Linked DNA regions of Homo sapiens: region 2 is linked to region 1. Evidence: promoter capture Hi-C in 16 types of primary human blood cells and fetal thymus (Javierre and others, 2016). All regions are on one chromosome and are shown on one strand. Each heading gives the region's core, a stretch centred on a gene start or on the middle of the fragment in contact. The rest is flanking DNA. Distances are from core to core; before and after follow the strand shown.

Evidence for each region. Contacts are between HindIII fragments. The CHiCAGO score rates a contact against its expected background, and 5 or more counts as called.
Region 2: the fragment with the promoter of VTI1B here is called in contact with a fragment that was not itself captured in region 1 in 2 of 17 cell types (fetal thymus and non-activated CD4 T cells); the score reaches 6.0 in fetal thymus.

The regions. Positions count from the first base shown.
Region 1 is chr14:67,362,546-67,365,117 of GRCh38, forward strand. EIF2S1 (eukaryotic translation initiation factor 2 subunit alpha) reads left to right here. Exons shown (of 8, transcript NM_004094.5): 2 at 2,222-2,463. The coding sequence starts at 2,223. It also overlaps a transcript of GPHN not described here. Among named protein-coding and RNA genes, the nearest start is that of EIF2S1, 3.5 kb to the left of the region's middle. The HindIII fragment of the contact is 1,529 bases long and covers 509-2,037 here.
Region 2 is chr14:67,673,352-67,675,923 of GRCh38, forward strand. It overlaps VTI1B (vesicle transport through interaction with t-SNAREs 1B), which reads right to left and starts at 1,281. Exons shown (of 6, transcript NM_006370.3): 1 at 1,024-1,281. The coding sequence starts at 1,138. It also overlaps a transcript of GPHN not described here. RefSeq lists silencers at 956-1,065, 1,166-1,605. The HindIII fragment of the contact is 4,739 bases long and covers 1-1,855 here.

The DNA.
Region 1 (2,572 bases), core at 23-2,522:
TGTTATCTTTCCCAAGCAGCCACTTCTAGTAAGTAGCAGAGCAAGGACTGGAACACAAGGCTAGAGTTGTTCCCCGAGTTTACTATGTTAATTGCCTGATTTGACACTTCTTGAGGACCAAATAAAATAAGAATGCTGTGAAAAAGATAAAGAGGTGAAGTCACCTAGTGTGACTTCGATATTGCGGAATGATTTTTTTAAGTTAAAAAAAAAATTTAAGTTATTAGCATTTCATTAGGCAATATGTTCAAAAATTGTCAACCAATATGCAGGTTTTTGTGGTATGGATTCTTTTTGTACTTAACTACTATCTATCTTTACTATGAATAACATACCATCAACAGTATTCCTTTACTTACCCTTTATGTTGCAAAGAGACTTGTGCCTCCTGAAGAAATAGTATTCATAGTCATATCCCTTCAGGATTCTCTTACATGATTGCCCATGTTTTTTAACCATCAAATTAAGCCTTGCTTCCCCTAAAAGCATCACCTTTACTGTTTGGAGAAGCTTGGTAAGTAAATGTGGTTTTCACTGGTCAAATGTCTTGCAACTGTTCCATACATTTCTGTAACATAGTTTATTTTTATGCCCAATTTGAAACTTTTTAGCTCTCAAATTTGAGAGCTTTACATACACATATTCAACAACAGTTTCCCCACCCCCACCCTCGAAAAGCCCTGTTTAAAAACGAAACAAACAGTCAGCTGTTTCTTGGTGGGTAAGGCCATTGAATGTCTACTTCTCTTTATTTGCTAAATCCCTATTTTGTAGGGATTTTGTATTCCCTACAAAGAAATACATCTCTGCTACTGTCATTAATATGCTGCTCTTTGTTGTCAAACAGATGAGTACTAATAGTTTGCACTTATTGGTGTTATGTACTCTGGCACTGAATATATATTAATGTTGCTTTTTAAGTAAAATGTTTCTAATTATAATATATTTATGAATAGTTTTGAGAGAATATAGTCTTACTGATAAGAGGACAGACTCTGGATCCAGACTTCATGGATTCAAATCCTGACTCATCACCTGTTAGCAGTATGTGAAAGAACAAGTAACTTAACCTGTGCTTCAGTTTTTTAATCTATAAAATGGGGAGAACTAGGGAGAAAGTTGTACCACAAGGAGATAGGCAATGGCCAGATCATATAGGATTCTGTAGGTAGTGGAAAGATACATAAGTCAGTGGGAAGCCACTGAGAAGATATAGGCAGGTGCCAATTAATAAGTTATTATATGAATTTTCACAAGGTTTTCTTAGGCCTTTAAGTTCTGTTACTACCTACGTTTTGAGCAGTGACAACAGTGAAGGTTAACAGAAAAACATGAAAATCATCAGCCATGATTAGTTTGAGAGCTTCCTTTTTTAAATATGCTTCTACCCAGGCTATGATTTCAGGCTTGTGGATCATAAAAGGAGTAGTGCTGAAAGTAGGTTGGGTGGATCAAAGGGAATAATTGTAAATATCTTTAATGCTTGGAGGTTAAGAGAAACTTGAACTTTGTAGTAATGGAGATTAAAGCTATTCTCAAGATTAGGTATACCTATTCAATAAAAGAAAGGAATATTTGGGAGTATTGGGGATAAGAGAAGCTAGACATTGTGAATTCAAGGAAAAAGAATTATGAGAGGAGGATGCATTTTAGTTTATTTTGTGATTAAAATTTTTTTAGTTTTTGTTGTTTTGACATGTGACACTGTAATTTTGGCTATAATAAATGACAGAATGTATCATTTGGTATATTGGTTAGGGTTTAGGTAGAAAATTTTTTCCTTTATATAGTGAGTGGTAGCGTATACAATGTTTGCTCACTTCGGCAAAGAGTAGCTTTAGTTTTCTGATTAGTTATAATAGTGATGCTTCCCATCATTTGATATGCCTTAAAGTAGTATTTTACTCTTGAGGTATTCCTTTAATCCTTAGGTCTTGGAGTACTTTATAGATGGTCATTATTTTTTATGATTCCTCTGAAACTAAAGGCAGAGAATCACCCAAGCATTACAAAAATGTTGAGCAAAATAAAAATTAAAGCTTGGTTCCTGAACATTATCTGTTTTCTGGTACCACTTAAGAAGTTTCAAAGGATGAGAAGACTAAGACTAATAACTATTTTTTTCTTCATCTTTTCTTTCAGTGGCAGGATGTGGAAATTGATTTTTTTTTTATTTTCACCTTAACTGAATACTTACTTAATTCTTTTGTTTAAATTGCAGAATGCCGGGTCTAAGTTGTAGATTTTATCAACACAAATTTCCTGAGGTGGAAGATGTAGTGATGGTGAATGTCAGATCCATTGCTGAAATGGGGGCTTATGTCAGCTTGCTGGAATACAACAACATTGAAGGCATGATTCTTCTTAGTGAATTATCCAGAAGGCGTATCCGTTCTATCAACAAACTCATCCGAATTGGCAGGAATGAGTGTGTGGTTGTCATTAGGGTGGACAAAGAAAAAGGTAAGTGAGAAAAATATCTGTAATATAAATTTCAGATTTAAAATGGTTTATTTAAAAATACATTTTTTGTAAATTGCAAGCTGCAGCTTAAAAAAAAAAGCTCCTTTTA
Region 2 (2,572 bases), core at 31-2,530, 310 kb after region 1:
AAATGATAAATAATAAAATAAAACTGAAGTCCCATCCCCTATTCTTTTACTCTGATTTACTTTCCTGTATTCTTTAACACTGCCTCTTAATAGTTATATATTGTTTATCACCTACCCACTAGAATGGGGATGTTCGTATCTTTTTCACTGTAATTTGCAATATTCACCAGCACCTAGAACGGTGCCTCACAATTCACCAGCACCTAGCACACAGCAGCCTCACAATAAATATATATTAAATACATGAATTTCATTCTCACCAGTCATTCAATTCCTATGACCTTGAGTAATTCGTTGAGCAAACACCCAAGCTCTGACTCTTAAATAAAAGCAATAAAACAAAGTTTTGTCCTTGCCATCAAATTCTATATATCCGGAGGCCAAGAACTATAGCAGCTTTTCCTATGGATTTAGGGCCGGAAAACTCTAGCTCCTCCAGACAGAACTTGTAGCAACCTGAATCATGAAATTAAGGGGTAGTAAACAGTCTCAGCTGTAAAAACGTTCAAAACAAGACCACATCTAAATGCCACAATCAGGTTTTAAAGGCCAGCTCTCTACCCTCCAATAACTGGTATTTACCAACACCCCCAAATTATGACTCCTTTGGGTTTTTAACCCTTTTTCTGTGCTACGGATCCTCTGTCAGTCTGGTGAAAACTAGACCTGTCTTGAGACTAGTGCTTTTAAATGCATAAAACAAACAAAAACAGCTATGAAAGAAACCCACTCTACATTACAGGACCGCAGATGCAAAAGCCCCTCTGCTCTATTTGCCACAGTGAAAAAAGATGAGAAAATGTGGAAGGCCATAGAAGGATCCCAGGGAACTGAATCCCGAGGTCCAATTTACTCTCAGTGGCAGCAGGGAGACCTGGGGCTGGGACAAGCCAGCCCTAGGGGGCGTGTCTGAGGACGCGGAGGGAGGAGACGCGGGCCCGGGTCTGGGAGGAAGGTGGGAGAATCTTCCTTCCAAAGCGCGCAGGGCTGCGCTCCCCACGGCGTGGCCCACCCCCGCCTCACCGGTCCCCGCCGTCCCCAGCAGCCGCTCGGGCACCCCTTGTAGGTCTTCATGGAGGCCGCGGAAGATCTCGTGCAGCTTCTCGAAATGCTCCGAGGAGGCGGCGGAGGAGGCCATGGCGCAGGCCGCGCTGGAGCAGCGGCCACCGAGATTCGGGGCCCTGGGCCCTTTCCTAGCCCGGCGGTCAGCCGCCCAGCCCAGTGGCCATAACGGCGACCGCCGCACCACCGCCGCCCAGGACGAGGCTCTTCCGGAGCCGCGGCAGGGTCCTCTCGAGCCGGAACGCCCACCTTCTCCAGCCAGTGATTGCTGGAGCGCCGGCGCGAAAGCCTGACGAGAAGTCGGGAGACTGCGCGGCCTAGGCGACTCCTGAGGGAGCGGTGCCGCGCCGGGGCGATCGGCAGTCGCGGAACCCGAGAAGTGCCGGGTCCGGGTTGGGGAAAGGCCGCAGCGAAAGGGGCCTAGGGGACCTGCGGGACTGGCAGCGCGGCCGCCTTCCTCCCGGGCCCCGCCGGCCGGCGAGGGGCGGGCGCTGCAGTGCACGCCGGGGGATGTAGTTTGGCTCGGACGAGAGCGTCTCGTCCCGGGGTCGCGCGTTGCTCCGGGTGCCAGGTTCAGCCCGCGCGGCGACAGCGGGCTTCGGCCCGATTTGATGTATGTTTGCGTCTAGACGTCGTCCTCACTGTCATCGCGCTTTGCTTTGCCACCCTGACCCGAATTCCTCGTTTCGCGTCTTGACTGTTAGCTTTCGGCCCTGGAAAGATAGCCGGGCCAGGGGCTCTGCCTGCCGTCGGGAGGTGGAGCACTTTTCTTGGAAGGCCCAGCGGCTCCCCAAGCTTTCAGAAGTGGAACCCGGCCGGGCGAGTGGCTCGCGCCTGTAATCCCAGTACTTTGGGAGGCCGAGGTGGGAGGATTGCTTGAACCCAGTAGTTCGAGACCAGCCTGGGCACAATAGCGAGAGCTCTACCAGAAACCCAAAATAAGAACCGGGCATGGTGGCGCGCACTTTTGGCCCCAGCTACCCCCGGAGGCTGAGGTCCCACCACTGCACTCCAGCTTTGGGAGACCTTGCTCCCAAGTGGAGCGAGATCTTGTCTCCAAAAAAACAAAAAACCCAAAAACCAAAAATTCAAAAGTGGAACCCAGTTAGGATGACCTCGAAATACTCTAGCTGCTAGGCCCGAGTAATTCTCCTCGTGGAGACTAATTCTCCTCCTAGGCTGCCTCGTGCACTTGTTGACAACAGGTGTTTGTCAAGCGTAGGCATTGCGAGGGATCTGGGCATGTTGGTGAATAAAACATTTAATCTCTGCTCCAGGGGAATTTATAATCTGGTGTGGAAGGTGGGCCTGGCTTCATTAGGTCTCATCTGCCACTAAGTGTCACGTGTTAAAAATTACAAGGTCCCTTCTTGCACTCCATGGGTATAAATTCCTGTCTTCACGTCGGGCATGGTGGCTCACGCGTCATCCCAGCACTTTGGGAGGCCGAGGCGGGCGGATCACTTCAGGTCAAGAGTTCAAGACCAGCCTGGCCAACATGGTGAAACCC